Linked DNA regions of Homo sapiens: regions 2, 3, 4, 5, 6 and 7 are each linked to region 1. The links are contacts of gene promoters, found by promoter capture Hi-C in human tissues and cell types (Jung and others, 2019). All regions are on one chromosome and are shown on one strand. The core of a region is centred on a gene start or on the middle of the fragment in contact, and the rest is flanking DNA. Distances in the headings are between cores, read along the strand shown.

Region 1 (3,132 bases), core at 265-2,764:
TAAGGACTTCCTTGGATACAGACCGGACAGTCCCTCTCCATCATTCTCCACTCTGTTTCCGGCTAGGCCCACCAATCTTCTTGCGTAGCGCCCAATACTGTTTGTCTGGGTGGAAATCCATCTCCGCCCAGCCTTTCATGGAGATAGAGGAAAACTGATCGGCATTCTTCCTCCATAAACTTGACAGCACTTGACTCCGTTTGGAAGATTGTGGAAGCGAGTCTTTGCTGTGTTTATGAGACCCCCGGGGTTGTTGCGAAGATCAAGTGATAAAGAGGATGAAGAATTTTGCGATACACAAAGGGCTCCAGAAATGTCGAGTGATATTATTAGCAGTGATTTGCATTCATGAAGGGAAGAATGGACGGAAATTAAATGGAACACTTTGGACACGTGTAAGGAAACTGCTGTCGGTCTAGCTCACTCCCCAGGCCGGGGAGCCTTCCTGGGAGGACCCATTTTCCTACACAGCTGCCCACAGCCCCTCTCCATTTCCACCTCCCTCTAGGTAGGAAGGGAACTCAGGTTGGGCAAAGGCGGTGAATTCGCATCTCCAGGAAGCGGCGGGGCCGGAAGGCAGCCAGCAGGGGGCGGCATTGCGCAGGACAGGAGAAGGTAGCGGCCAAGTTCCTCATGAAATCCACGTGCGTGAGGCTGGGAAGGTCCTCTAAGATGTTTAAATAACCCTTAAAGCGGAATCAAGATTTGTTTTTTTCTGCAGTTAGAGAGTTTGCTCCCTCCCAGCCGGCTCGCTGAGCGCTGTGGAACCCTTCGGCTGGGCTCCCCTGAAATCGGGCGCTTGTTCTGGGACAGGCGCAGAAGGGACCCCGGGAATCACGCTTGCGCTCGGGATGTGCAGGGTTCCAAGGGTGACACAGGGGAACTTTTCTATGCAAGGGCTAGCTGCTAGTGCAGGTCTCAGACTTACCTTCCGTTCATTTCAAGACAAATTGAGCTCAAATTACCCTTTTCTTTTTCGTTAAATGAATGGGGAATGAATGAATGAGATTTTCTGTTTTGAAGATGAGGCTCATCTCCCCTCCCCTCGCCTCCCCTGCCCTCCCCTACCCCTGCCCTCCCCTACCCCTGCCCTCCCCTCCCCTCCCTTCCCTTCCCCTGATCCCAAAGTTGATTCCCGGTTGCAGGAACACAGCGTAGAAAATTCGATGCATTCTCTCAGGAAGGAGCCTGGAGTGGGACTCAGGGGACCTGGGTGCTGGTCTCAGCCCCACGCCAGTCGTGGACAGGCTTCTGTTCCTTGGGCTTCTCGTCTGTAGAATGACGGTTGGAGAGAGGATTTTTCTCCTTCTCTTCTACAAGGATGTGCTGTGACAGCCAGGGAAGGGCTGGCCATGCACAGTGCTTTCATGCATGGGCTCTGACTGTCACCAAAGAGCCAGACCCGGCCACAGGCCATCCTGGAAGAGGGGAGAGCCCTTTAATGTGGGCAGAGGGAATGTTGGCCCGCCAGAGTTCCCTCTCAGGTGTGGTGGGAGTGGCAGTTGAATGGGGCAGTTGGAGAGGAGGACTTCAGGCGGGTGGGACAAGAGAAACTGAATCTGAGGTCCTTGGGGAGAAGCAGGCCCTGGAGTCCTGGGCAGCAGATGCCAGGCTCTGAGCCCCATGACTGCTGACCCTCCTCCCCTCCCTCTCATCCTCAGCCCAGGTAAAGCTTCATTTCCAGCCCAGGTAAAGCTTCTCCCTGTAACAATTAGTGGCCACCATTTAGTCCCAAGGGCCTTTGTTTCTCATCCTCAGGACAGGCTGTGTGTGTGTGTGGTGGGGGGTTTGGGGGAGGTGACACCACTGAATGGGGCTGCCCAAGTGGGAGGCAGCAGGGACGAGGCTCCCAGAAGAAAGGCAGCCCCTCTTCCACTTTTGGAGCCCCCGCTATCATAAAAGAAAAGGCAGAAATGCCAAGACGCGATTTCAAAATCTCTGAAATACAAAAGCCTACATTGAATATTTTAAGTCTTTTCCCACACATGCACAAACACAAACACATATACAGGGTAGTGTTCACAATTTAATTATGGGATTTATACCTCCCCCCCAAAAAAAAAGACCTGGAAAGCTTTACTGCAGTTCTCATATGAGGTTTTCATCTTTCTTTCTTTTTTTTTTTTTTTTAACTTTTAAATATATTATTTTCCTGGGAGGGTAGATTTGAATTGCTCTGAATCCAGGCTCTGCATCCTTCTTTGATCGTGTCGGAATGTGTCTGTAACTGGATGGATGACCTCTTTTGGAGATGCCATCACTGGCCACTGTTTTAGGCCTTCTGGGAGATGAGGGTACTTGAGCAAAAGCACCCCCACTTCCCTTCCCACACCCCCAGCTTGGTGCTGTCCCCTGCATGCACTTCCCTCTGCCACCTCTCTGCCTCTCCCTGCCTCCCAACCCCAGTCCCTCATCACTCACAGGGCTTTCTGATCTGGCTGCCACAGGTGCCTGGGACCTGGGGACAGACAGGAGAGGTGCGGTGCAGGCAGGGCCTGGGAGAGCTCCCCAGTGTCTCCTCTGTGCTGGAGGCCAGTCAGGCCCTGGAGGAAGGGGCTGTGGGAGTTGGGGGAGACCATCAGATATTGATAACTTTGGTGGCTTTAAATTAACAATGGATTTATTAAGAAAGAAGTAGGGCTGTAGTCTCATACCTGGGAAAAATTTTATGACTAAAGGTGTGCCTGCTTTTGGTTGATGGAGGAACTCCCATCATGAGCACCAAGGAAGACCCAGAGTCCAGTTCTCAAACATAAAGTTGTTAATTTTCTGGGCTAGACAGGGGCAGAAATGAAATATAACAGAGCAAAGTGGGCAGGTGTGGAAAATGGTTCTTCTTGAGATGACTTCTAGACATCTTTTGTTCTCTCTTGGGGCAGAGACAAGGATAGAGAAAAAGGCCTCAGGAAACACTATAAGGAAGACAGCAGTGCCAATGCAATAATAAATGTTACATGACCCCAAATCTCAGAGTCACAGAGACAGTAAGGAGTGGTGGGGATTGTGGCAAACTAAAGCATGTATACCCTGCCCAGGAGGGGCTGCCGTGCTCAACGTAAGTGGATTGTCACCACATGAACATACAGAGCTCTTGATATTTGACGAAAGCCAGAAGCCAGTCTTATTTTTTTT
Region 2 (3,132 bases), core at 257-2,756, 1.5 Mb after region 1:
GATTTTCTTTCCAGGATCTCATAGACAGAAATAAACTGATGTACAAATTGTACCACCCCTTGACAAGTCATTAAATGAAACTTGTACAAGTGCAGAGAAACTTGCTTTTAGTGTTTATAAATTGAGTCTAAAAGCAGGAAGTTCAAGAACATCTAAATTAGTAGCTCACTGTTTTGTTAATTTGAATAAAATTCAATTGAACATTGAACTAGTGGGTTAAGAAGCCCTTTGTTAAATTCGATTGTTTGAAAAACAGTGACATTATTTGAATTATAGAAGACTTTTTGGCTTTAATTTTGTAAAGAATACTTTAAAGGTATATGGCTTTACTCTAAGTTTCTGCAGTGAAACACAGCAGGCTGAACTAGCAGATCTACCTTAGGATATTTTGTCAGCCTCCTGCCTTAAATCTTAATGACCTTATTAAATGTGGCATTTATCTCCCCACTAGATGGTGCTTTAAGACCAGTAATTTTTTCTTGTATTCATAAGCAGTAACTTCATAGGCAATGCTGCAATAATAATAAAATTATAAATTGCACTCCAAAAAAATAATTGTAGAAGGTAATTTTTTCCCTGGGTGAAAGATGATTTTTTTCCCCCCGTTTGAAAGATGATTTTTTTCCCCTGTGTGAAAGATGAGATGAGAAGATAAGGCAGTAAGCCTTTACATTTTTGTGGAACTCAAGTCGATTTAGTGAGTTTCTCTTGGCTTAAATAGTAAATAATAATAAAATAAAAAATGTGTGAGGCCCGGCATGGTGACTCACACCTGTAATCCCAGTAATTTGGGAGGCTGAAGGAGGAAGACAACTTTTTTGAGACAAGCTCTCACTCTGTTGCCCAGGCTGGAGTGCAGCAGTGTGATGTCACTCACTGCAGCCTCAATCTCCTGGGCTCAAGTGTCCCTCCCACCTCAGCCTCCTGACTAGCTGTGAATACAGGTGCATGCCACCACACCGAGCTAATTTTTGTATTTTTAGTAGAGACAGGGTTTCACCATGTTGGCCAGGCTGGTCTCGAACTCCTGACCTCAAGTGATTTGCCTGCCTCCGCCTCCCAAAGTGCTGGGATTACAGGACTGCGCCACCGTGCCCAGCCCGGGAAGACCTCTTGACCTTAGGAGTTTGAGACCAGCCTGGGCAACATAGTGAGACCCCACCTCTACGAAACCTAAAAAAAAAAATTAGCTGGGTGTGTTAGGGCATGCCTCTAGTCCCAGCTGCTGGGGAGGCTGAGGCAGGAAGATTGCTTGAGTCCAGGAGTTTGAAGCTGCAATGAGCTGTGATTGAACCACTGCACTCCAGCCTAGGTGACAGAGCAAGACTTTGTCTCAAAAAAAAAAAAAAAGTTTGAAAGTCTGATTAATAGTTCTACCTGGTTTAGAATTATGTATGTGTGATTTTAGCTCTTCGTAAATGGGCTATGATTTCTATTTAGGCTTTCCAGTTTTTCCATTGTGCATTTCCTATTTTTCCATAGCATATTCAATAAAATCCCAAAATTTCAATAAGCTTGAGTATTTTCTAGGTTTGATACCTTTGCTCTTAAAAAGAAATGATTGATTTTGATTGACATGAAATATGATAAGGGAACATAACGTATATCGGACAAATTCAATCTTTACTTGGAAAAAAATTGTATTCTGATTTGATAGCCTTGCATGTGCTAACGACAAGCAATGACTTACATGCATAGCTTGTACATCACTGGCAGATGGGATGGCATAAGGGAGGAATCGTGTGTAGTTTTGCAGAAGACACGGTGGTACTTGATGGAGAGACTGGAATGTTATCAAATGTAGGCAGACTTAAAAAAGGTCTCTGGGCTAAGATAGGAGTGGGGCTATCAACAGGCAAGATCAAACCAGAGTGTCTGGATTTTGTACTGTGCAGTAAATTTTTCCTTTCTGCTTCAAAACACACTGCTTATATGTGACTAAAGGAGGTCTGAAAAAAACCAACACTGCTTCAGAACTTCGGGATCTGTGACACAAATGTTACTTCATTGCTTTTAGACTATGAAGTATCAATATAATGAAAAGAAATGAAAAGAAATAAGCTAACGGGCATGGATACTGGAAGTGCTAAGAGACTTATTTTAAAATTTGAGTCTTAATCTTCACAACTTAGTAGAACATGGTTTCATCCTCAATTTCTTTTTTTTATTTTTAAAATTTTTAAATTTTTTTGTTTTTCCCTTTTTTTTTCACAGCTGTTCACTCAGTTTCTTTCGGATTAACCAAAGTAGACAAAATCCTTGCTTTTCAAGCTTCACCTAATTCACTTACTTGAAAAGCGGGAAAAGTTTCTTTTTTATTCATTCAAAATGTTTAAGTGTTCATAGTCTGATGTAAATTTGTTTAAGATATGGTTCTATCTTGCATTTGTTTTTCCCTATCTTATTTAGAGCATGACTAAATTAAAAAAAAACAACATCATTTAAGGCAATCGTTCTCACTCTTGGCTACACATTAGCATCCCCAGGGAACTTAAAAAAATACCCTTGTATGTCCAGAGACCCATTTAATTGGTCTGGATGGGGCCCTGAGCATCTGTTTGTTTGTTTGTTTGTTTTTTGAGACAGGGTCTTGCTCTGTTGCCCAGGCTGGAGTACGGAGTACAGTGGCATAATTAGATCTCACAGCAGCCTTGACCCCTGGGGCTCAAGCCATCCTCCCACCTCAGCCTCCCAAGTAGCTGAGACTACAAGTGCATGCCATCACACCAGGCTCATTTTTGTATTTTTGTAGTGACAGGGTTTTGCCATGTTGCCCAGGCTGGCCTCAAACTCCTGGGCTCAAGTGATCTGCCTGCCTTGGCCTCCCAAAGTGCTGGGATTACAGGTGTGAGCCACTGTGCCTGGCCTATTTTACTTTATTTTTAAACCCATTAATTTTATATCTGTTAACTTGATTGTGCATTTACAAATTATTTTATTGCATCTAGAAATACTCTGTATTCTGTTTTTATATTTGAGAAAGTTTATAAATTAATACATTTGAAGTGCCAGTATGGTTGTCCAGTACAAGGTCATTTTGTTTCAGTCACTCTCTAGATTAGTAATGGCACCTTTTTTTCCCCCTCGGAATCTCAAGGGCTTATTTTTTGAAATTCTTTAATAATCTTCCTT
Region 3 (3,132 bases), core at 399-2,898, 1.5 Mb after region 1:
CCAGAGCTGAGTTCAAGTCCTGAATATCCTTGCTAATTTTCTGTCTCATTGATCTGTCTAATATTGACAGTGAGGTGTTAAAGTCTGTCACTATTATTGTGTGGGAGTCTAAGTCTCTTTGTAGGTCTCTAAGAACTTGCTTTATGAATCTGGGTGCTCCTATGTTGGGTGCATATATATTCAGGATAGTTAGCTCTTCTTGTTGCATTGATCCCTTTACCATTATGTAATGCCCTCCTTTGTCTTTTTTGATCTTTGTTGGCCTTTTTTTTTTTTTTTTTTTTTGAGATGGAGTCTTGCTCTGTTGCCCAGGCTGGAGTGCAGTGGTGTGATCTCGGCTCATTGCAAGCTCCGCCTCCTGGGTTGATGCCATTCTCCTGCCTCACCCTCCTGAGTAGCTGGGACTACAAATGCCTGCCACTACACCCGGCTAATTTTTTGTATGTTTAGTAGAGACGGGGTTTTACCATGTTAGCCAGGATGGTCTTGATCTCCTGACCTCGTGATCCACCCGCCTTGGCCTCCCAAAGTGCTGGGATTACAGGTGTGAGCCACCGCACCCGGCCTGCTGGTTTAAAGTCTGTTTTATCAGAGACTAGGATTGCAACCCTTGCTTTTTTTTTCTTTTTTTTTTTTTTTTTTCTTTCCATTTGCTTGGTAAATATTCCACCATCCCTTTATTTTGAGCCTATGTGTGTCTTTGCATGTGAGATGGGTCTCCTGAATACAGCACACCAATGCGTCTTGATTCTATTCAATTTGCCAGTCTGTGTCTTTTAATTGGGGCATTTAGCCCATGTACTTTCAAAGGTAATATTGTTATGTGTGAATTTGATCCTGTCTCTATGACACTGGCTGGTTATTTTGTCTTTTAGTTGATGCAGTTTCTTCACAGTATTGATGGTTTTTACAGTGTGATATGTTTTTGCAGTAGCTGGTATCAGTTTTTCCTTTTCATATTTAGTGATTCCTTCAAGAGCTCTTGTAAGGCAGGCCTGGTGGTGACAAAATCTCTCAGCATTTGCTTTTCTATAAAGGATTCTATTTCTCCTTCGCTTATGAAGCTTAATTTGGCTGGATGTGAAATTCTGGGTTGAAAATTCTTTTCTTTAAGAATGTTGAATATTGGCCCCTACTCTCTTCTGGCTTATAGGGTTTCTGCAGAGAGATCCAGCGTTAGTCTGATGGGCTTCCCTTTGTGGGTAACCCAGCCTTTCTCTGGCTGCCCTTAACATTTTTTCCTTCATTTCAACCTTGGTGAATCTGACAATTATGTGTCTTGGGGTTGCTCTTCTCGAGGAGTATCTTTCTGATGTTTTCTTTATTTCCTGAATTTGAATGTTGGCCTGTCTTGCTAGGTTGGGGAAGTTCTCCTGGATAATGTCCTGAAGAGTGTTTTCCAACTTGGTTCCATTCTCCCTGTCACTTTCAGGTACACCAATCAAACATATGTTTGGTCTTTTGCATAGTCCCATACTTCTTGGAGGCTTTGTTCATTCCTTTTCATTCTTTTTTCTCTAATCTTGTCTTCACAGTTTATTTCATTAAGTTGATCTTCAATCTCTGATATCCTTTCTTCTGCTTGATTGATTTGGCTATTGATACTTGTGTATGCTTCATGAAGTTCTCATGCTGTGTTTTTCAGCTCCATCAGGTCATTTTTATTCTTCTCTAAACTGGTTATTCTAGTTAGCAATTCGTTTAACCTTTTTTCAAGGTTCTTAGCTTCCTTGCATTGGGTTAGAATTAGAACATGCTCCTTTAGCTCAGAGGAGTTTGTTATTACCCACCTTCTGAAGCCTACTTCTGTCAATTCATCAAACTTATTCTCTGTCCAGTTTTGTTCCCTTGCTGGAGAGGAGTTGTGATCCTCTGGAGAAGAAGAGGTGTTCTGGTTTTTGGAATATTCAGCTTTTTTTGCGAGGGTTTTTCCTCATCTTTGTGGATTTATCTACCTTTGGTCTTTGATGTTGGTGACCTTCAAATGTGGTTTATGTGTGGACATCCTTTTGTTGATGTTGATGCTATTCTTTTTCTGTTTGTTAGTTTTCCTTTTAACAGGCAGGCCCCTCTGCTGCAGGTCTGCTGCAGGTCTGCTGGAGTTTGCTGGAGGTCCACTCCAGACCCTGTTTGCCTGGATATCACCAGCAAAGGCCACAGAACAGCAAGGATTGCTGCCTGTTCCTTCCTTTGGGAAGCTTCATCCCAGAAGGGCACCTGCCAGATTCAAGCCGGAGCTCTCCTGTATGAGTTGTCTGTTGACCCCTGCTGAGAGGTGTCTCCCAGTCAGGAGGCACAGGCATCAGGGACCCACTTGAGGAAGCACTCTGTCCCTTAGCAGAGCTCGAACGCTGTGCTGGGAGATCCACTGCTCTCTTCAGAGCCGGCAGGCAGGAATGTTTAAGTCTGCTGAAGCTGCACCCACAGCTGCCCCTTTCCCCAGGTGCTCTGTCCCAGGGAGATGGGAGTTTTATCTATAAGCCCCTAACTGGGGCTGCTGGGAAGGCAGTTTTTTTTTTTTTAAGAGATGGAGTCTTACTCTATTTTCCAGGCTGAAGTGTGTGGTACAATCATAGCTCATTGTAGCCTTGAACTCCTGGGCTCAAGTGATCCTCCCACCTCAGCCTCCTGAGTAGTTGGGACTGCAGGTGCGCAGCACTACATTCGGCTGATTTTTAAATTTTTATTTTTGTAGAGACAAAGCTCTTGCTTTCTTGCCCAGGCTGGCCTCAAACTCCTGGACTCAAGCCATCTTCCTACCTCTGCCTCCCAAAGTGCTGGGATTACAGGCATGGGCCACCATACCTAGGCTAAAGGCATTTTTTAAAAATGTGAATACCTGGGCCCCACTCCAAGCCAATTAAATCCTAAGTGGGTGGAGAACTGCAGCTATAAGCAAAGCAAATTGTGTGGGTGCCACAGAGTAGATTTAGCCTCTGAGATGGGTGGAAGGGAATGGGCTTTCTCAGACCATGATGAGGTCTTGTGAGTGATGAGATGCCCAAAGCTTGTTCTTATTTTCTAATTTTCTATAGTGAACATGGATTACTTATACAAAAGATATATGGGATATTAATTAATTAATTAGAGACAGGGTCTCCCTCTGTCACCCAGGCTGGAGTGCTGTGGCGC
Region 4 (3,132 bases), core at 331-2,830, 1.4 Mb after region 1:
ATAAAACTTACATTTGGTTTGTGCTTATATGGACACTTGAAGTGACAGAATGAAGCTTAAGCATATGTTCTCAGTGGCAATCATCGTGAAGCTCCTGAACTAACTGCTTAGAGCTTGAGGCCTGATTCTTCCACATTTCAGAAATGGGAGATAAGAAAGGCCTGTTAAACTTTTAAAACTTTATAATTTTGTTTACAACAGAATTCTTTAGTCCCATGGACATAAAACCTATCTTAAAAGCAATTGTGATCCAGGGAAGTGGCTTCCAACAATTTAATATGGACTTAGATCCTCACTGGGGATCCAAAAGCACAAACAAAACCCTTTATGTATGGAGCCAGTACACAAGAATACCTATACATGTACACACTTACCGGGAAACACACAACAAAAATTTGACTCAGGCGTGGTGGCCTGCACCTATAGTTCCAGCTATTTGGGAGGCTGAATGGGGAGGATCACTTGAGTTCAGGAGTTTGAGGCTGCAGTGAGCCGTGATCACGCCAGTGTACTCTAGCCTGGGTGACAGAGGGAGACTCCCATCTCTGTTTAAAAAAAAAATCACAACATTTTCTCTAACAGAATATGATGTATTCTGATATTTTCTATTCTGTGCCACTTGGTTTTATTTTTTAAATGCTGTTCACAACCCACCAATTTGATTTCATGACCCATTGCTCGGTTGTGAATCACAATTTGAAAAACACTGTTCTATCAAAGCATGATGTAGGCTGATGAAAAATAAAAATAAGACACTGTTCTAGGGTGCTCCATTTTTCATGTGAAAAGGGCAGGATAAACCTGGGTAACCTAGTGAGACTGTATCTTTACAAACAAGACAAAAGTTAGCTGGTCGTGGTGGTGGTTGCCTGTAGTCCCAGCTACTTGGGAGGCTGAGGTGGGAGGATTGCTTGAGCCCAGGAGGTAGAGGTTGCAGTGAGCCAAGATCACGCCACTGCACTCCAGCCTGGACAACAGAGCCAGACCCCATCCTGACCCCCCTACCCCCTCCCCAAAAAAAGAAAAAAAAGAGGGCAGGATGATGTATCTTCCCACTTCATATTTACTCCCAACATGCCCCTGAAAGTCATGTGACTATTCTATAATTATTTTAGAAACTTGTTTCCCTTTAGGTATCAGATTTAAACCAACCCCAGTGGCTGGACTCACTTAAATCCTTTTATTGTTTCTTCATAAGGCAACTGGTCTAAAATACATGCTTTTTCTTTTCTTTTATTCTCTCCTTGCCTCAAGAAACATTTCTATGTGGTGACTGCTGCCAACAGGTTAAGGAAATTTCCAACTTCTCCCTAATCTTCAACTCTGCTGCTCCAATGGGTCCAGAAATTACTGAGGCCAGTGGTGAAGTGAAGAGATGACTCAAACATTTAAATAATTTGGCTTTTTGGTATTATTGATTCCACTTATTTTGTAAAAATGGTTATGGCTGCTGCCTTCCTTGTGGATGAAAAGTGGCTGTAAAGAAGCTTCCTAAGAACGTTTTTTTCTGCCTTGTAAGATCACTACGTGTGAAATGCTCTGAGTACCTTTCAAATATACCTACTTTTGGTGGTAAGTGTAGGGATGCTTTAGGTAGGTACTTTGCATCTGTCGAATTTAAATTCTAAACTCACACTGATTAAGGAACTCAGTAGACTACTTTGCAGGGGCCATGTTATTCAGTGTTATCTCCTCCAGTACAAAGAATTCCTAGAATTTTGATTTGCTCAGGTGTGAGCTGACATTTTATTGTACTACCCCATTCTTGTGTTAAGCCATGTGGATTTAGGACAGTGATCTTCAAACTTGCTTTAACTTATGCTCCCTTTTGAGAATCAGCATCACTTGAAATGTCAAAATATGTCAACTCTCATAGCCAAATCAAAGAAGTGATCATTTTGACTGTGCTTTTTAAATCTCCACACACCTCCACCTCTCTCCTAATTCTGCCTGTCTTAACCCCTCTGTCTTAGTTATAAATTTCTGGTCTTGTAAGTCTGGAAGCTGATAGGCAATTTATGAAAGAGATAAGAATGTAATGAGGTTCCGCTTTCTGAGAAACACAGAAATGATACATCCTGAGACATAAAGGAAAGCTGCTCTTCTGCTGCCTCAGGCTGTAGCACTCTCAATGTTGTCACTCTACACATACACTTTCTATATACATGTACAGTTGACCCTTGAACAGGGTTTGAATTGCAGTCAACTTAAATGTGGATTTTCTTTCACCTTTGTCACCCCTGAGACAGCAACACCATGCTCTCCTCTTCATCCCACTCTGCAGCCTACTCAACAGGAAGATGATGAAGATGAACACCTTTATGATGATCCACTTTCACTTAATGAATAGTAAACATATGTTTTCCTCCTTATGATTTTAGTAACTTTTCTCTAGCTTACTTTATTGTAAGAATACAGTATATAAGCTGGGTGTGGTGGCTCATGCCCATAATCCCAGCACTTTGGGAGGCTGAGGCAGGCAGATCACTTGAGGTCAGGAGTTCAAGACCAGCCTGGCCAACACAGTGAAACCCCATCTCTACTAAAAATACAAAAATTAGTGGGGCGTGGTGGCGGATGCCTGTAATGTCAGCTACTCTGGAGGCTGAGGCAGGAGAACTGCTTGAACCTGGGAGGTGGAGTTTGCAGTGAGCCAAGATTGCACCACTGCACTCCAGCCTAGGCAACAGAGCAAGACTCCGTCTCAAAAAAAAAAAAAAAAAAGAATACAGTATATGTATATATACACACACACAAACACACACACACACGAACACATATGTGTGTATGGGTATTAACTGACTGTTTATATTATTGATAGGGCTTCCAGTCAACATTAGGCTATTAGTAGTTAAGTTTTTGGGGAGACAAAAGTTATACTCAGATTTTCTACTGCAAGGGGGTAGGCACTCCTAACCCTCACATTGTTCAAGGGTCCACTGTACATTTAAACACTTTTCTATATGCATTAGAGTAGCCCTGTCATCCCTTCACTGAAATCATACTGTTCTCAACATGGCAAGCAACTAACACTTTTTTTTTTTTTTGAGACAGGGTCTCACTCTGTTGCCCAGGCTGCAGTGCAGTGGTGTGATCTTGGCTCACTGTAGCCTCCGCCTCCTGGGCTCAGGC
Region 5 (3,132 bases), core at 164-2,663, 1.4 Mb after region 1:
CATTTTCTTTTTTTTTTTTTTTTTTTTTTTTGAGATGGAGTCTCACTCTGTTGCCCAGGCTAGAATGCAGTGGCGTGATCTCGGCTCACTGCAAGGTTTGCCTCCCGGGTTCACACCATTCTCCTGCCTCAGCCTCCCGAGTAGCTGGGACTACAGGCGTCCGCCACCATGCCCGGCTAATTTTTTTGTATTTTTTAATTGAGACGGGGTTTCACCGTGTTAGCCAGTATGGTCTTGATCTCCTGACTTTGTGATCCGCCCACCTCGGCCTTCCAAAGTGCTGGGATTACAGGCGTGAGCCACTGCGCCTGGCCTATGCTACATTTTCTTTATCCATTCATCTGTTGAACACTTACATTGATTTTATATCTTGACTATTGTGAATAATGCTACAATGAAAATGGGAGTGCAGATATCTCTTCAACGTACAACGTACTGACATCATTTCCTTGGATATATACCCAAAAATGGGATTGCTGGATCATAAGGTAGTTCTATTTTTAGTTCTTTGATGAACCTCCATACCATTTTCCATAATGACTGTACCAGTTTACATTCCCACCAACAGTGTACAGGATTTTCTGTTTCTCCACATCCTGACCAACACTTGTTATTTTTTGTCTTTTTAATAATAGCCATTCTGACAGGTGTGAGCTGATATTATGGTTTTGATTTACATTTCCCTGATGATTAGTGATGCTGAGCACTTTTTCTTATATGTGTACACCATTTGTATGTCTTCTTTTTAAGAAATGTCTATTCACATCCCTTGCCCATTTTTAAATTGGGTTATTTTCTTGCTATTGAGTTGTTTGAATTACTTATGTATTTTGGATATTAACCCCTTAGATGTATGTTTTGCAAATATTTCCTCCCATTCAACAGATTATCTCTTCACTCTTGATTGTTTCCTTTGCTGTGTAGAAGCTTTTTAGTTTGATGTAGTCTCACTTGTTTGTTTCTGCTTTTGTTGCCTGTGCTTTTGGTGTAATATTCAAAAATCATAGCCAAGGCCAATATCAAGGAGTTTTTCTAGCTTGTTACCTGTTTTCTTCTAGTAATTTTATGATTTCTGGTCTTAGGTTTAGGTTTTTTAATCCATTTTGAGTTGATTTTTTGTATATGGTGTAAGGTAAGGGTCCAGTCTAGTTCTTTTGTATATGGATAGCCTGTTTTCCCAACACCATTTGTTGATGATACTATCCTTTTTCCATTGTGTCTTCTTGGTGGCCTTGTTGAAAATTAGTTGAACATATATGATTGGGTTTGTTTCTGGACTTGCTGTTCTTTTTCATTGGTGTATGTGTCTGTTTTTATGCTAGTACCATACTGTTTTGATTAGCTTTGTAATATAGTTTGAAATCATGAATTGTGATGCCTCCAACTTTGTTTTCCTTTCTCAAGATTGTTTTTGCTATTTGGGGTCTTTTGTGTTTTTTTAAGAGTTTTTTTTTTTCTGTGAAGAATGTCATTGGAATTTTGATAGGGGTTGTGTTGAATCTGTATCATTTTGGATAGTATGTGTAGTTTAAATAGTATTCTTCAAATCTATGAACATGGGATATCTTTCCTTTTTTTGTGTCTTTGGTTTCTTTCATCAATGTTTGATAGTTTTCAGGGTACAGATCTTTATTAGTTAAAATTATTTCTGGGCTGGGCGTGGTGGCTCACGCCTATAATCCCAGCACTATGAGAGTTCGAGGCAGGTGGATCACGAGGTCAGGAATTCAAGACCAGCCTGGCCAAGATGGTGAAACCCCATCTCTACTAAAAATACAAAAATTATCCGGGTATGGTGGCGGGTGCCTGTAATCCTAGCTACTCGGGAGGCTGAGGCAGAGAATTGCTTGAACCTGGCAGGTGGAGGTTGCAGTGAGCCGAGATCGCGCCACTGCACTCCAGCCTGGGCAACAGAGCGAAACTCCATCTCAAAAAAAAAAAAAAGTCTAAATATTTTATTCTTTTGATGGTATTGTAAATGTGATTTTTTTCTTGATTTTTTTTTTGGATAGATTGTTATTGGTGTAAAGAAATGCAACTGATATTTGTATGTTGATTTTGTATCTTACAACTTATTAATTCATTTATTCTAATAATTTTTCTGTGAAGTTGTTAGGGTTATTTATATTGAGGATCATGTCATCTACAAATGGATAATTGTACTTCTTTCTTTCTGATATGATGCCTTTTATTTATTTTTCTTGCCTGATTGCTCTTGCTAGTATCTTTAGTGCTATGTTCAGTGGAAGTATTGAGTGGGCATCCTTGCCTTACACAGATCTTAAAGGAAAAGCTTTCCGTTTTTTCCCCATTAATGATATTAGCTGAGAATGTAGGCTATTCATAAATTGCCTTTATTACATTGAGGAATTTGTCTTCTATATTTATTTTGTTGAGAGTTCTTTTATCATAAAAGGATGTTATGTCATTGCGATGTCTGACTTTAGTATTAGGGTGATGCTGCACTCAGAAAATGAGTTCAGAACTTGTACTTTTTGGCAGAGTTTACGAAGGATTGGTATAAATTCTTTTTTTTTTTTTTTTGAGACAGAGTTTTGCTCTTGTTGCCCAGGCTGGAATGCAATGGTGTGATCTTGGCTCATGCACCCTCCGCCTCTTGGGTTCAAGTGATTCTCCTGCCTTGGCCTCCTGAGTAGCTGTAATTACAGGCGTCTGCCACCAAGCCTGGCTAATTTTTGTATTTTTAGAAGAGATGGGGTTTCACCATGTTGGGCAGGCTGGTCTTAAACTGCTGACCTCAGGTGATCTGCCTGCCTCAGCCTCCCAAAGTGCTAGGATTACAGGCATGAGTCACTGCACCTGGTCAGTATTAATTCTTTGAATATTTGGTAGAATTCAACCATGAAGCCATCTGGTCCTGGGCTTTTCTTTGATGAAAAGTATTTTATTACAACTTTAATATTTTTATTTGTGATTGGTATGTTCAGGTTTTCTAGTCTTGATTCAATCTTTGTAGGTTCTATGTTTCTAGAAATACCCATTTTCTCTAGGTTATCCAATTTGTTGGCATATAATTGATAATAATAGTCCCTTATGGTCCTTTTTATTTCTGTGACATCAGTTGTAATGTCTCCGCTTTCATTTCTGATTTTGAGTCTTCTTTTTTTTCTT
Region 6 (3,132 bases), core at 276-2,775, 1.3 Mb after region 1:
CTGGGAAACAACAACAAAAAATTGAGTGTGGCTCTCTTTTTTGCAATGGCCTGGAACTGAACCCCCAGTCCCTCCAAGGTATGCCTGTAAATGGACCAAACAGGAAGCAATTTCGTGGGTTTCATATTAAAAGCTTTAAACATTTATATAACTGTTATTTATACAAAGTGTGCTTACAGGCATTTACTATGTAAAATTGTAACTCATAACTTTGCTTTAGTTAACAATTGTTGAATAAAAAGTTATCAGTGGAATAGCCAGTCTCTGTAATAAATGCATATTGGTAAATTTTCTCTGAGCCAAGTGTACAGTTTGTAAATTTTCTTTCTGTTATGTTTGTTCTGATTGTTTATTAAGTATAACTTTGGGTCTGTCAAATTAAATATTTAAAAGTAAGCTTACGTTTTGCATAGTTGTTTTTAAATTTCACTTTTTCTTTCTTTTTCTTTTTTTTGAGACGGAGTCTCGCTCTGTCGCCCAGGCTGGAGTGCAGTGGCCACAATCTCGGCTCACTGAAGCCTCAATCTCATAGGCTCAAGCGATCCTCCCACCTCAGCCTCTCTACTAGCTAGGACTCCAGGCATGGGCCACCACGCTCAGCTAATTTTTAAAAATCTTTTACTTTTTGTAGAGATGGGGGTCTCGCTATGTTGCCCAGGGTGGTCTGGAACTCCTGGGCTCAAGAGATCCGCCCTCCTCGGCTTCCCAAAGTGCTGGGATTACAGGCGTGAGCCATTGCGCCCAGCCTCGAATAATTTAATTTTAATGTTAATTTAGTAAGTATCAGTCACGGACAGATTGGAAAAAGAAAAACATCTGATCCCTCATCTTGATAGTGAGTAGCACTGGTTTACACAGCTAGGCTGCTCCTTGAAGGCTGACACTGCATTTTATTCAAATTTTCCTGACAGTGGGACTTAGGCAATTATATATTGAATAAATAAATGAATTTTCACTCTGCTGCTGGGTCCAGTGGTCTCATAAAATGTCTATCATAATTTCTCAATGATTAGCCTTGGTAACATCTACTTAAGTTTATTAAATGCCAGGATCCACGCTACGCCCTTCACCATTCATTCCCCAGCCTTCGCTCCCACGGTCTCTGTGGGGATGGGGCGTGCCCAGCACTACGGCCCGCCCTACCTATGCATTCGTTGGTCGAACTCGACGCCCGTTACTGCCGAGTCCCGCCCAGGCCTTGCCCCCTCGTAGTCGGCCAGGCCGAGAGGAGGCGTGGCCACTGCCGCGCCGGGGCGGTCTGGCGGAGGGGGGGGAGGTCTCCCCTCGTCTCGTGATACTCTGGGCGAGCTCGCGGGCGGGCTGTGGGTCGCGAGCCGCCGTGGGAGCGCGTGTCGCGGTCCCCAGGAGCCGCCGGCCGACGCTCCGCCCCGCCCCCTTGGCGCCCAGGTCCCGCGCGAGCTCGCGCACGCGCGCGCGCGCACCCGCCAGAGGCTTGTTTGAGGCCCGCGGGGACTGGGCGGGCGGAGGCCGGGCTGCCGAAGTGTGAGGGGAGGAGCCCGAGCCGTCGCTGCTGCCGCCGCTAAGGGAGAGGAGCATGTCTGCAACTCGAGCCAAGAAAGTGAAGATGGCCACCAAATCATGCCCCGAGTGCGACCAACAGGTGGGTGCCGGGGGCCGGGCGCGCGGGCGGGCGGCAGTGGCTTGGCGGCCGTTGTCTGTGGAGGGGGGCCTCGCCGGGCTCCCGGAGGCCGAGCGGTGGGCAGATCCTGGGGCCCGCCGGCGGCGGCGGGGATCCGGGGCCGGTCGGGCTGCACCGAGGGGTTTCCCGGGAAAAGCCCGGGGCCGTGGCCCGCCAGCGTCCACCTGGCGGCGGCCAGACGGCCAAGCCCCTTCTTGCTGTGTCCCGGCCACTGGAGGAGCGCGCCTTTGGTGGGCTCACCGGGCGGCTGTCTGGAGCCCCAGACTCTCCTCGCCGGCGGCGGTGACAGCGGTGGGAGCCTGCGGGCCGCAGCCCCGGCGAGAGTGTGCCGCACGCCCGCCTCCGAGGCCAGGCCCTAGCTCCGAGAACCCCTCCTGCGGCCGGGGCGGCTTTGTTCCCGGTTCCGACGGGTGCGGGGCTTCCCCAAAACGGCCCCTCCGCGACCGGGGCGGGCGCCTGAGTGGGACAAAGGGGGCCGCGTGTAATGATTTTGAGTTTCGGCGAATTTGGAGATTTTTTCCCCTTCCTCATCTATTTATTATATTTTTGCTGTGCAATCGCGAATCCTGCCTTTACATCGTTTTTAATGGGTCATGATTGAATAAAGCCCCTGTTTAAGCCCTTCCTCCTTTTTGGGCGCTCCTAACTTCCCCACCCCTCGCAGTATCCACTGTTACAAATTTGGCCTGTCTGCTTCCAGATCTGTATCCCTGTCTGTCTGAATGTCTCTGTGTGTCTCTCTCTCTCTCTCTCTCTCTCTCTCTCTCTCTCTCTCTGTCTGTCTCTCTCTATCTCTCTATCTCTCTATCTCGTTTCTTGAATTTGAAACGATTCCTTTCTACATTGAGTTCATGGTGTAATAGTTGTAATTTAAAACATCTCATTTCAGTGATCGCTGTGTTGAAGCGTGTCTCAATTCTTTACTGGAATAATAGACATTCCTTTAAGCCTTAACATCTAATGAGTTAAAACTACTTCAGTTAAAACCATTCGTAAGGCCCTCGTTTGTTACCAACATGTAGATCTGGGTGTGTTTTTTCCTTTTCCACTGAGTGGATTTTTTCAAAATGACTACCTTTCTCTCCTCCCCTCCCCCCACCGCCTTTTTTTTTTTTTAAATCAAGAGTAATTTGAAATGGCTGGAGACTTTTTAATAAGCTGATTTTAGTGCATTTTTCAAGGAGAATTCTTGTAGGTTTTTCAAATCTTTTAACAGAAAACATGTTACATGTTTTATTAAGTATCCTTTATGGGCTGTAGTAAAAATGCTTATCAGAAAAAGGTTGTGCAAGAAATACAGTGTAGGAGCTATACCAGTATGCAGTATAAAAACAGTTTAGTCATGTTTTCCAAAGAGTTACTTTCATTCTTACTACTGAACTAAATTTGTTAAATTTTGACAAAACTGGACTTTGCAATATGACTCTTTGCGGGAGATTATTTCAGTGTTTAAATCATTTCCAATTATTCCA
Region 7 (3,132 bases), core at 258-2,757, 1.3 Mb after region 1:
TTGCCCAGGCTGGTCTCAAACTCCTGAGCTTTAAGCCATCCTCCTGCCTTGGCCTCCCAAAGTGCTGGGATTACATACAGGCATTGAGCCACTGCACCTGGACTTTTGGACTTTTTTTTTTTTTTTTTTGAGACAGTCGTGCTCTGTTGCCCAGGCTGGAGTGCAATGGCATGATCTTGGTTCACTGCAGCCTCCACCTCCCCAGTTGAAGCGATTCTTTTGTTTGTTTGTTTGTGTTTGAGATGGAGTCTGGCTCTGTCGCCCAGGATGGAGTGCAGTGACGCAATCTGGGCTCACTGAAGGCTCCGCCTCCCGGGTTCACGCCATTCTCCTGCCTCAGCCTCCCGAGTAGCTAGGACTACAGGCGCCTGCCACGACGCCTGGCTAATTTTTTTGTATTTTTAGTAGAGATGGGGTTTCACCTTGTTTGCCAGGATGGTCTCCATCTCCTGACCTCGTGATCCGCCCGTCTCGGCCTCCCAAAGTGCTGGGATTACAGGCGTGAGCCACCGCGCCCGGCCTGAAGCGATTCTTGTGTCTCAGCCTCCCAAGTAGCTGGGATTACAGGTGCCCTGACACCATGCCTGGCTAATTTTGGTATTTTTAGCAGAGATGGAGTCTCGCCATGTTGGCCAGGCTGGTCTCAAACTCCTGACCTCAAGTGGTCCACCCTCCTCGGCCTCCCAAAGTGCTGGGATTATATACAGGCATTGAGCCACCACACCCAGCCTTATTGGATATTTTTAATGTGCTGGATACTGCCCCAAGTGCTTTAATGCATCATCTCATAGATGCCTTAGAAGAACCCTATGACATACCACCGTTATCGCCATTATACAGATAGGAAAACTGATGTTCAGAGAGGTTGGGCTACTTATCAAGATTACATAGCTAGACTGGGCACAGTGGCTCATGTCTGTAATCCCAGCACTTTGGGAGGCTTGAGCCCAGGAGTTCGAGACCAGCATGGGCAACATAGCAAGACCTCATCTCTACCAAAACATAAAAAAATTAGCCGACATGATGGCATACACTTGTGGTCCCAGCTTCTTAGGGGCCTGAGGTGGGAGGATACCCTTGAGCCTGGGAGGCCGAAGCTGCAGTGAGCTGTGATCATGCCACTGTACTTCAGCCTGGGCAACAGAGCAAAAAAAAAAAAAAAAAAAAAAAAAAATCACATAGCTAGGGTGGCAAAGCTAAGACTTGAACTTAGGACTCCATGGGTTCAGTGCTCAGTCTCACAAGACTGCCCCCACTTCAGACACCAGCCACAAGTGGGGTCCCCAGGGCACCCACACTTCTGCCCAGCTGGTTAAAAATTCGGGAGTTCCCATGACTTACCCCCTGTATTCAATAATTCACTAGAATTACTCACACAACTCAGGAAAGTGCTATAATCATTATTACAGTTTTGTTTTAAAGAATAAAACAAGAACAGCCAAAGAACAAGGCGTGGGAGGCTGGGAGGGGCACAGAGCTTCCATGCCCTCTCTTGAGCATGCCACCCTCCCACTACATTGATGTGTTCAGCATCCCCTAAGTATAGTTACAAACAGAAATTACAGTAATACTGGTTTTCATATTTGTCTATTTACCTTTGCTATGGAAATTTATATTTTCATGTGGCTTTGAGTTACTGTCTGGTGTCATCGCATTTCAACTTGAAGGATTCCCTTTAGCATTTCTTGTAGGGTGAGTCTAGTGATAACAAATTTCCTCAGCTTTTGTTTATTTAGAAATGTCTATTTTCTCCTTTGTGTTTCATTTTTAATATTATTATTTATTTATTTATTTATTTATTTTTGAGACAAAGTCTCACTCTGTCGCCCAGTGGTGCGATCTCGGCTCTCCCAAATTCAAGCGATTCTCCTGCTTCAGCCTCCCGATTAGCTGGGATTACAGGCATCTGCTACCACGCCTGGCTAATTTTTTGTATTTTCAGCAGAGACAGGGTTTCATCATGTTGTCCAGGCTGGTCTCGTCCTGACCTCAGGTGATCCGCCCACCTTGGCCTCCCAAAGTGCTGGGATTACAGGCGTGAGCCACTGTATCCGGCCAATTATTATTATTATTTTTTAGAGACGGTGTCTCACCATGTTGTCCAAGCTGGTCTTGAACTCCTGGGCTCAAGTAATCCACCTGCCTCAGTCTCCCAAAATGCTGGGATTACACGTGTGAGTTACTGTGCCCAGTCTCTTCTTTGTTTTTGAAGAACAGTTTTGCTGGGTGTAGAATTATCAGTGACAGGTTTTCTCTTTCAGCACCTTACATACAATTGTGTGCCATATAACAACGTTTCAATGACAGAGCATGTATACAATGGTGATCTCATAAGATTATAATACCATATTTTTACTTTGCAAAAGAGAAACACTCCGTCTCAAAAAAAAAAAACAACTTACTTTTCTTCCCAGTCTCAGGTATGTCTTTATCAGCAGCATGAAAATGGACTAATACAGTAAATTGGTACCAGTAGAGTGGGGCGTTGCTGAAAAGATACCCGAAAATGTGAAAGCAACTTCGGAACTGGGTAACAGGCAGAGGTTGGAACAGTTTGGAGGGCTCAGAAGAAGAAAGGAAAATGTGGGAAAGTTTGGAGCTTCCTAGAAACTTGTTGAATGGCTTTGACCAAAAGCCTGATAGCAATATGGACAATAAGGTCCAGGCTGAGGTGGTCTCAGATGGAGATGAGAAACTTGTTGGGAACTGGAGCAAAGGTGACTCTCGTTATGTTTTAGCAAAGAGACTGGCGGCATTTTGCCCCTGCCCTAGAGATTTGTGGAACTTTGAACTCCAAAGAGAGATGATTTAGGGTATCTGGCAGAAGAATTTTCTAAGCAGCAAAGCATTCAAGAAGTGAGATGGGTTCTGTTAAAGGCATTCAGTTTTATAGTGGAAGCAGAGCATTCAAGTTTGGAAAATTTGCAGTGACCATGTAATAGAAAAGAAAAACCCATTTTCCAAGGAGAAATTCAAGCCGGCTGCAGAAATTTGCATAAGTAAGTAGGAGCCAAACGTTAACCCCCAAGACAATGCGGAACATGTCTCCAGGGCATGTCAGAGGCCTTCATGGAAGCCCCTCCCATCACAGGCCCGGAGGGCTAGGAGAAAATGGTTTGGTGGGCCAGGCCC

Evidence for each region. Contacts are between HindIII fragments. The study calls those that stand out against the background at their distance.
Region 2: a contact is called between a fragment that was not itself captured here and the fragment with the promoter of ABCC12 in region 1, in 2 of the 25 tissues and cell types used here (lymphoblastoid cells and spleen).
Region 3: a fragment that was not itself captured here is called in contact with the fragment with the promoter of ABCC12 in region 1 in 1 of the 25 tissues and cell types used here (lymphoblastoid cells).
Region 4: a fragment that was not itself captured here is called in contact with the fragment with the promoter of ABCC12 in region 1 in 1 of the 25 tissues and cell types used here (spleen).
Region 5: a contact is called between a fragment that was not itself captured here and the fragment with the promoter of ABCC12 in region 1, in 1 of the 25 tissues and cell types used here (spleen).
Region 6: the fragment with the promoter of C16orf87 here is called in contact with the fragment with the promoter of ABCC12 in region 1 in 3 of the 25 tissues and cell types used here (aorta, hippocampus and mesenchymal stem cells).
Region 7: a contact is called between a fragment that was not itself captured here and the fragment with the promoter of ABCC12 in region 1, in 2 of the 25 tissues and cell types used here (mesenchymal stem cells and spleen).

Annotation. Positions count from the first base shown.
Region 1 is chr16:48,154,375-48,157,506 of GRCh38, reverse strand. It overlaps ABCC12 (ATP binding cassette subfamily C member 12), which reads left to right and starts at 1,514. Exons shown (of 31, transcript NM_001393797.1): 1 at 1,514-1,666. The HindIII fragment of the contact is 12,201 bases long and covers 1-1,885 here.
Region 2 is chr16:46,605,042-46,608,173 of GRCh38, reverse strand. All of the region lies in intron 5 of SHCBP1 (SHC binding and spindle associated 1), which reads left to right. Among named protein-coding and RNA genes, the nearest start is that of SHCBP1, 15 kb to the left of the region's middle. The HindIII fragment of the contact is 6,049 bases long and covers 1-3,132 here.
Region 3 is chr16:46,640,347-46,643,478 of GRCh38, reverse strand. No RefSeq gene overlaps it. Among named protein-coding and RNA genes, the nearest start is that of SHCBP1, 21 kb to the right of the region's middle. The HindIII fragment of the contact is 3,378 bases long and covers 1-3,132 here.
Region 4 is chr16:46,705,886-46,709,017 of GRCh38, reverse strand. It overlaps MYLK3 (myosin light chain kinase 3), which reads left to right. Exons shown (of 13, transcript NM_182493.3): 13 at 1,255-3,132. The coding sequence ends at 1,314. Among named protein-coding and RNA genes, the nearest start is that of ORC6, 18 kb to the right of the region's middle. The HindIII fragment of the contact is 3,696 bases long and covers 1-3,132 here.
Region 5 is chr16:46,793,097-46,796,228 of GRCh38, reverse strand. No RefSeq gene overlaps it. Among named protein-coding and RNA genes, the nearest start is that of C16orf87, 37 kb to the left of the region's middle. The HindIII fragment of the contact is 4,329 bases long and covers 1-3,132 here.
Region 6 is chr16:46,829,573-46,832,704 of GRCh38, reverse strand. It overlaps C16orf87 (chromosome 16 open reading frame 87), which reads left to right and starts at 1,525. Exons shown (of 4, transcript NM_001001436.4): 1 at 1,525-1,621. The coding sequence starts at 1,556. RefSeq lists a silencer at 1,179-1,828. The HindIII fragment of the contact is 8,650 bases long and covers 1-3,132 here.
Region 7 is chr16:46,871,734-46,874,865 of GRCh38, reverse strand. No RefSeq gene overlaps it. Among named protein-coding and RNA genes, the nearest start is that of GPT2, 11 kb to the left of the region's middle. The HindIII fragment of the contact is 5,013 bases long and covers 1-3,132 here.